Linked DNA regions of Homo sapiens: regions 2 and 3 are each linked to region 1. The links are contacts of gene promoters, found by promoter capture Hi-C in blood cells and fetal thymus (Javierre and others, 2016). All regions are on one chromosome and are shown on one strand. The core of a region is centred on a gene start or on the middle of the fragment in contact, and the rest is flanking DNA. Distances in the headings are between cores, read along the strand shown. Region 1 holds the start of TCP10L (t-complex 10 like). Region 2 overlaps MIS18A (MIS18 kinetochore protein A). Region 3 overlaps URB1 (URB1 ribosome biogenesis factor).

The links. The method cuts DNA at HindIII sites, captures the fragments that hold promoters and counts their contacts. A CHiCAGO score of 5 or more calls a contact.
Region 2: a fragment that was not itself captured here is called in contact with the fragment with the promoter of TCP10L in region 1 in 1 of 17 cell types (endothelial precursors); the score reaches 5.3 in endothelial precursors.
Region 3: a fragment that was not itself captured here is called in contact with the fragment with the promoter of TCP10L in region 1 in 6 of 17 cell types (endothelial precursors, erythroblasts, M1 macrophages and 3 more); the score reaches 8.0 in endothelial precursors.

Annotation. Positions count from the first base shown.
Region 1 is chr21:32,584,081-32,587,016 of GRCh38, reverse strand. TCP10L (t-complex 10 like) reads left to right here and starts at 1,494. Exons shown (of 5, transcript NM_144659.7): 1 at 1,494-1,596; 2 at 2,712-2,856. The coding sequence starts at 2,713. The region is part of intron 5 of CFAP298-TCP10L (CFAP298-TCP10L readthrough); the gene reads left to right. RefSeq lists a silencer at 1,456-1,655 and an enhancer at 2,737-2,936. The HindIII fragment of the contact is 14,271 bases long and covers 1-2,032 here.
Region 2 is chr21:32,269,178-32,272,113 of GRCh38, reverse strand. MIS18A (MIS18 kinetochore protein A) reads left to right here. Exons shown (of 5, transcript NM_018944.3): 3 at 1,585-1,707; 4 at 2,311-2,407. Among named protein-coding and RNA genes, the nearest start is that of MIS18A, 8.4 kb to the left of the region's middle. The HindIII fragment of the contact is 2,073 bases long and covers 509-2,581 here.
Region 3 is chr21:32,324,841-32,327,776 of GRCh38, reverse strand. URB1 (URB1 ribosome biogenesis factor) reads left to right here. Exons shown (of 39, transcript NM_014825.3): 31 at 2,388-2,548. Among named protein-coding and RNA genes, the nearest start is that of MRAP-AS1, 18 kb to the right of the region's middle. The HindIII fragment of the contact is 496 bases long and covers 1,324-1,819 here.

The sequences.
Region 1 (2,936 bases), core at 245-2,744:
TCACACAACCTCTCACACACCTCAGGACACACACAACCCCTCACATACCTCAGGAACCTACGCAAACTCTCACACACCTCAGGACACACACACAACCTCTCACACACCTCAGGACAAACACCCACTCACACACCCCAGGACCCAAGCACAACCCCTCACACACCTCAGGACACACACACAACCCCTCACACACCTCAGGAACCCATATAAGGAACCCACACACCTCAGGCTCATACACACAAGCCCTCACACACCTCAGGAATCCACACACAACCCCTCACACACCTCAGGGTCTCACACACAATGTTGACACACCTCAGGGTCTCATACACAAACCCTCACACACCTCAGGACCCACACAATTCATCACACTTCTCAGGACACACATAAAACCCCTCACACACCTCAGGGGCCCATACATAACCCCTCACACACCTCAGGACTCACACACAATCCTCTCACACACCTCAGGACTCACACAACCTCTCACACACCTTAGGACCCACACACAACCACTCACACACCTTAGGACCCACACACAACCTCTCACACACCTTAGGACCCACACACAACCACTCACACACCTTAGGACCCACACACAACCTCTCACACACCTCAGGGACCCACACACAACCACTCACACACCTCAGGACCCACACACACCTCATACACCTCAGGGACACACACAACCCCTCACATACCTCAGAAACCTATATAAACTCTCACACACTTCAGGACAAACATACAACCTCTCACGCACCTCAGGACACACACACACACACTCGCACACCTCAGGACACACACACACACTCTCACAGTTAGAATGACACATGGGGACAAAAGTGCCTTCTGTTTCCTCTTTGTAGTATTCTCTTCATTCATTCATGACGTCGGCATTTACTGCCTATTGCATGCGAATCGCTTGCAGAACTATCCAAGTGACACACGTCCCAAGCAGGCTCAGGTGAGCCCCAGGTGTATGTTGTCCACACGCAGCACCATGGATGAGAAGGACAGCCAGGGTTTAACAGGAATATCGACTCTTGCTTGCTCCTCATTCTCTTCTCTATCACAAAAATCACACGGACAATTCAGATGGAGATGCATTTAGTGAAATGATGAAACTTTGAATCCTGTCTCCTATTTAAACTCACATATATTATTTTCCCTTCATAAAAATGTTTTTTCTAGTAAATAATTTGATATCCGAAGAAAGTTTGTATTTCTCCAAGAATGTATGCTCAGAGAAATGAGCTCTTACTACACGTTGCGTATTGAAGACTGGATATAAAACACATGGTTTTTGTCAATTTGGAGGAGTAGTTTGACTCTCTCCAATGTCCTTTGTGGATGGATGGACTCCACTGACGATGAGCTTCTATATTAAGAATTGCAGGTTTGGGGATGTTTAATTATTATCTGAGCTGGTACAGTGGTGACGCTGAGTGAGACGTTCATGTCCCTTTAAGACAGAAAGTCCGTTGGAACTGTCCGCTGCTCTCTGGTCTCTGGATATGAGGCAGGAGGGCTTGGGGACAACTGTGGGGACATGGCCCAGATGATCTGATCCTGGCAGTAGTGACTGTTGGGGACCAGGTGAGGTGACGAGGTCTGGTGGTGGGGCTGAAGGAAAGGGTCTTCCCTGGACTGAGGGGGTCATGAGTTTGGGGCCGAGGACACTGGGGTGTCCCCTCAGAGGAGCAGGAAAGAAGGAGCTTTCTCAGGGCTGTGAGGACCGTGACCCCAGCCCACTTCCGCAGAAACATTCCCAGTCTCCGCGGGGAAGGAATGGCAGTGATCTGGTTACTGGTAGGTCTTGCTCTAGACCTTCGATTCGCTTCCATCAGGAGACTCTCTTTTAAATAGCATTTCTCCGATCACTGTGGTTAAACTGTTCCTTCTCACACAGTTAGAAGTTTATGAATTAAACAGTCGGGGTTTCGTTGGGGGCCACTGGCTTCCTAAAACGGACAGGGCAAGGCAGGGGTGGAGGCAGCTTTCAGAGACGACCCTGCAGGCTTGCAGGAAAGCTTTGCGTTTTTCTCTTTCGTTTTTGTTCTCTAATTGCTGTGAACTTCCTAGAACTGGCATAAATGCTGTACCTATAAAAAGGTGTTTCCTTTCCACATCTTCACCATGAATTCACAAATGTCACCCTGATGGTTCAAGACACATACTCAACACGGTGGAGGGTCTGCCTGTGCCCCTCCAGGTGGGTGCTGATTAAAGGGCTGAGAATTCCCTCGGTGTCTCATGCGACCCTCCACTCACACCTGCTCACACCCTGAGACCATTCCACTCACACCTGCTCATACCCCAAGACCATCGTGCTCACATCCGCTCACATCCATTCACATTCCGCTCATATCCTGCTCACAACCCACTCACATCCCACTCACACCGGCTCACACCCCACTCACACCCCTCTTTGGATGACTGGAGTGTGTTAGGTGTCAGGCTGATCTTCTAGGATCTAAAGCATTTTCCACGGAGGATGGTGGAGAGCCAGGTGTGGACAGCTCAGTCCCTCTGTCTGTGGTGTCCTTTCACCTGGTCAGCTTCGGGCCTGGGAATGTGCACATGACCCAGGGGGAGAAGGAGCGGCTGCGGGTCCTGCTCACCCTTAGTTTGGGGCTGGGGCCTTCAGCCCACACTGACGGGGTAGGAGGGCTGCATTCAAGTGTCCCCATAGCCCTTCCCTTCCCAACCAGGATGCTGGCAGGTCAACTCGAGGCCAGGGACCCCAAAGAGGGCACCCACCCAGAGGACCCGTGCCCAGGAGCTGGGGCTGTCATGGAGAAGACAGCTGTGGCAGCCGAGGTTCTCACGGAGGACTGCAACACTGGGGAGATGCCAGTGAGTTGAGCTCTGTGGGGACAGAGTTAGTCCCACCAGGCGGGACCCTGATTCCTGTCCCTGAGGCCCGTCATTGGACT
Region 2 (2,936 bases), core at 296-2,795, 310 kb after region 1:
TGTGAAAGCGGAAAGTTGCTGCCTTAATACTAGCTACCATCTCTTCATTGCTCCACAAGATGATTCTAGAAGTGTGAATGGGTTTGTTCCTATTTTTGGTGGTGTTTAGGTTGATTTTGATAACTCGGGATAAAACAGTCTTATTCATGGCTCAGTGGATTTGGGGAGTTCAAGCCTCTGGTTTCTCTGAGTGTCCTTTCTTGGCTGATGACATTAGATATTAGTTTGCAGTCTTGGTAATGGTGTGAGGCGGTCTTATAATGGTAATGAGGTTTGATATATAGCATGGAGGTTTACCTGTTCACTGTGAGTAATTTAAGTGGGATTTACCGACATGCTTTTTATTTCTCATATAAACATTTAAACAAGCTGGCTGGGTATGGTGACTCCTGCCAGTAATCTCACATTTGGGAGGCCAAGGTGGAGGATTGCTTGAGGCTAGGAGTTCGAGACCAGCCTGGGCAACATAGCGAGACTATTTCTACTATAAAACTAAAATATAGAAGCTTATAAAAGCCCGTAGACACTTAATATGTAATCAGTGGCATACTATCCAGCTAATCACATCATCAGTGAGAATTCATGACTTAATCAGATGGTGATCCATTTTGTTCTTTGTTCCATATGTTGCTGTAATAATTAACAGTGTCTCAGTATCTGTAAGTAAACAATGATGTAGTCTATAATCTGTGAGTCTTGGGTAGCTCCCTTTTGCTTGATAGCAGGAATGGATATTTAGTGATTACAAGTGTTTCACATACTGAGTAGGAGTTAGAATACTTTTGTAATAAAAATCGTTTGTGGTGTATGTTTTACTACTGTGATCACTACTAGATTTAAATCTCTAGTTATCATTTTGCTATGTGTTGGAATGGTAATTTTAGTATATTTATAGAATGGTAAATTTGGATGGGTCAGTTCAACAAGGCGTTTGGGAGACACTGGATTCTAAGCCAGGTTTTAAGGAGACATGAATAGGCTTTGGGGGAGGGTATATTCAAGTGTGTGGAACCTGAGTTGAGAGGTAACTAGAATGAAGAAACAATTACATGGGTTGTCATCTAACTTTAGAGACTTTTTTTTTATTAAGCCAAGCAGTATTACCTTCCACTAGAGCAGAGTTTGGTAAACTATGGCCCATGGGGCGGGCACCCATTTGTGAATACGAGTTTATTGGAACACAGGTTATTCAGTTAGTATTGTCTATAGGTGCTTCCGTTTTACAATGGCAGAGGTGAGTAGTGACAGACACCAGATGGCTGGCGAGGCTAAAATATTTATTCTCCACTTTGTTACATTAGTACCAGATGGAGGAATTTATATTCTAGAAAAACACCACCTCAATATTCTCTCTTGTCACTTTTTTGTATGTCCCTTGTCATTTGATACTTAAGGCATCGTGGCTGTCTTTACATTTTTATTGTAAATATCTTACTATCATTTTTTCCTATCCTTTATGTATGACCTAGTGTGGTCAGAATAGCATACTTGAGAAACTGAGGTGTTTATGGATTTTAACAGTGAGATTTTTATTATAATGAGTTGCTGCTTCGTTTCCTAAAGCAAGACATTTCTTTATTGCAGCGTCCTTGAGACTTTGTGCTGCGCGGGGTGCTCACTCAATCTTGGCTACGTGTACAGATGCACGCCCAAGAATCTTGATTACAAGAGAGACTTGTTTTGCCTCAGTGTTGAAGCCATTGAAAGGTAAGTTTGATATATAAATGTTTACCTCACAACTGGTGTTTCAGAAAGTTAAGGCACGGAATTGTCAGAACTAAATCAATACTGTTTGGTTAAATATATTTTCAAGTAATGATTTCTAACAAGCCAGTAATTTTTTTTTTTTTTGCTTTGACCTCCTTCTTTATTTGGTATTGGAAAAGTCAGACACTCTAAATTGTAGGAGAAAACACTGTGAGAAAATTTTTGGAATAAAAGTATATTCAGTTGTTTTTAAAAATTGAAAGTAGTTCAGTAGGATATTGCCCCCTGCCCCCAGCTTTTTATTTTTATTTATTTTAAAACTTATTTTTTTAAGATATGGGGTCTCACTCTGTCGCCCAGGCTGGAGTGCAGTGCTGTGGTCATAGCTTTCTGCATCCTTGAACTCCTGGGCTCCAGCGATCCTCCTGCCTCAGCCTCCCAAGTAGCTAAGACTACAGGCATATTGCCCGGGGTCTTGTGTTGCCCAGGCTGGTTTCAAACTCCTAGCCTCAGATGATCCTTCTGTCTCAGCCTCCTGAATAGCTGGGAACAAGTGCATGCCACCACACCCAGCTTGTATTTTAACCTTGTACCGTACTTCAGTTATGTTTTAGGGTCCTCTGAAAAGCAAATTGTGTCAGAAGATAAAGAGCTTTTTAATCTTGAAAGCAGAGTTGAAATAGAAAAGTCTCTAACACAGGTAATTTTATTCTGTACATTTTATATCTTTGTATGAACAGTTTGTCAGTGAAGAAGTGCTCCCCCACAAACGATAATTCTCATAACGTCATCTGTGTTGATTGCAGGAAGAGTGTGCTTATTTCATTTCAGTTGTTAGTAAAGTTGATTTTTGGGGAACTCAAAAGCTAAAGCTTAATCAACAAAATAATGAGGAAGACATGTCATGTCAAAATCAAAACTATATATTAAAACACTGCAAAGCTAGAAATACATCTTTGATTCAAATCAGTATTTTGTTTGATTCAATTCTTGTGGTATAAATAGCCTTGTTGTTGGATGTTAACATTTTCTCATTGCCAGATAGGTGAGATGGTGATGATTGTATAAAAGAGATGTAGATTATAGGTTGAGAACTACTGTTGATAGAATTATGCTTTATTTTTAAAAAATTTATGCCTCTAAATAGTTTTGTTAAACACTGAATATCTACCTTGTAATGTATGACATATCCAAAATTGCATTAAGTGTATATCTTAATTATATTTAAC
Region 3 (2,936 bases), core at 322-2,821, 260 kb after region 1:
GTATAGTATAAGGACCTTGTAACAGTATAGATCCATTTCCTCCCTTCTGGCTTTTCTGCTATTCTTGTCATGCATTACATTTCAGTATGCTATAAACCCTACAATATAGTGTTGTTTTTGCTTCAAATTGTCATTATTTCTAAAAGAAGTGTAAATATTTGATATTTGCCATATTGTTACCATTCCTTTGTGTAGATCTAGATTTCTATCTGGTATCATTTTTCTTCTTCCTAAAATACTTCCTTTAAGAATTCTTATTGTTCAAGTCTACTGGTGACCAATTGTTTTAGCTTTTTTGTGTCTGAAAAAAGTCTTAACTTTTGAAAGATTTTGATACTGGTGACCAATTGTTTTAGCTTTTTTGTGTCTGAAAAAAGTCTTAACTTTTGAAAGATTTTGATGGGGTATAAAATTCAAGGTTGACAGTTTTTTTTCTTACAGTACTTTAAAGAAGTTGCTCCTCTGGTTTCTGAATTGAGTTATTTCTGACAAGAAATCTGCCATTCTTATCTTCATTCTTCTGTATGTCATGTGGCTGCTCTTAAGATTTTTTTTAAATCACTGGTGTCAAACAATTTGATCACAATGTGCTTTCGTGTGATTTTCTTTTATATATAAATATATATGCTTTATTTGTGATGATGCTTGCATGATATTCTTAATGTTTTATGTTTTGAGTTTCTTGGCTGTCTAGGTTTATAGTTTTTTTTGGTCAGATTTCAAAAAGTTTTGGCCATTATTTCTTCGGATTTTTTTCAGGGACCCCCTATTACACATACCCACAGGACACTGATGTTCTGTTCATATTTTTCCTCTCTGTGTTTTCAGCTTGGATAGTTTCTATTGCTGTCTTAAGTTCGCTAATCCTTTTTGGTCTAGTGTCTAATCACTGATAATCCCATCTCTATTGGTCCATTCTTGCACTGGTATAAAGAACCCGAGACTGGATAATTGATCAAGAAAAGAGGTTTAATTGACTCATGGTTTCATAGTCTGTGTAGGAAGCATGGCTGGGGAGGCCTCAGGAAACTTTCAATTATGGTAGAAGGCAAAGGGAAAGCAGGCACATCTTACATGCCAGAGCAGGAGGAAGTGGGGCAGTGCCACACGCTTCTAAACAACCAGCTCTTGTGAGAACTCACTAGCATGAGAACAGCAAGGGGAAATCTGCCCCGAGATCCAATCACCTCCCACCGGAGTCCCCACCTCCAACATGGGGGTTTGTAATTCAACATGAGATTTGGGTAGGGCCACAAATCCAAACCATTTCACCATCCAATGCATTTTTCAGCTCAGATATTTTAGTTTTCATCTCTAGAAGCTTGGTTTTGGGTTTTTGTATCTTCTGTGTCCCTGCTTAAAATGCTTTATCTTTCTTTAACTTTTAAAAATGTCATCAATGGACTATCTCTTATTGATGTTATATTCCATGATTACTCATTTGGAGTAGTCATTTCAGTTGGCTTGTGTTTGGTTCCCAATTAGGCCACTGGTCACTCTATCTCGAGAACATCATTGTGGATAATTATCATGATCAGTTTAATCATTAATAATTAATTCCTATTCTAAGGTTCTTCTTGACAGTATTTATCTTGTAGAATAGCCTGGGTTTTTATTAAGGAGTGGGAAGGTGTCCTCAGTTTCGTTAGTGAAGAGCCCTCTAGGTTGTGGTAAGGCGCATCCCCTCATGTGTCTGACCTTCTCCCTCTCTCTGTGAGTCTTCTCCTCTCCTCTAGTGATTGTCAGCTTCTCTCGGCCTCACAAATGGCAAATGGATACCAGCCAACAGGCTCTCTGGACCGTAGCTTTTGCTTAAGCTTGATGAGCCACTTTTCTGTGAGACTTGTGTTGTTTATTTGAAGGAAGAGCTAGGGTTGCAGAGTGGGTGTGAGTGAGTCCTTTGTCGGGCTGGTTGGCATCAGCTGCCTTTTCCTGCTTTCACTGCTGTGTGTGCTTTCCTCGGTGATGCTTATAGACAGGCGCCCGCGGTGGAGGGCTGAGCAAGGTGGAAGCTGGGGACTGATTTTCTCTGCTGATTCCCAGTTGTGTTCCCCAGGCCTCTGGCATGCTGGGGTCTCCGCAGTGGGTCTCAGTGTCACCTCCAATATCCTGACTCATTGGGTGTTTATGAGAAATAATGAAATTATCCTGGTTGGGATGTATGAGCATTTTAGAAACTGAAGGTATGGTCATTATTGCCACATAAAGGAAGAGGTTTTTTTGTCTAACTTCAGCAGAAGTTAGGAGGAGTTGGAGAGAGACTTGCATTCCTTGTGCTTGGCACATGTAGCTATTGGTAAGACACAAGAGGAAATTTAATTCTCCAGGTTAACAAGAATAATAAAATCATATTGTGTGTGTTTCATGCTGTATTTCATTTCCTGCAGAGTTTGTGGTGGATTGTCGAAAATTTTTGGATTCAAATGCTCTGGGCCTAACTGTCACAGCCCTCAGCAGCTATGACCCCCAGATGCGAGCCATAGCCTACCATGTCCTGGCGGCCTACTACTCGCACTTGGAGGGCGCACGGTTCCAAGAGCAGTCCCAGGTAAGTAGGAAGAGCGTACATCCTACTGTGGGGGTGGGCCTGGCGGACTTCAGAGAGCTGGCTGTCCACCCGGTTTGGTAGAAGGATTTACTAGGGAACACGGAGGTGGCATGTTGCCGGGAGATCTCTGCTGAAGAGCAAAAGTCTGTTCCCTTAGGAGGTGATCCCGGAGGTCGCCTTTGATCCACAACCCCCCGTGGAGGTTGAGAAAGGTTTCTCCTTACAGGCTTTCTTGTGTTGTGTGTAGACAAAATTATATGACTTCTACTGAGTATTTCTTTGGTCTAAACTCAGTGGTTAAGGTGGCTATTATCCACGACACACTGAACCTTAGAAACCTGTACCCCATGGTGCTGGAGGAACAAGAGCAGATTAGATTTTCAGGGCA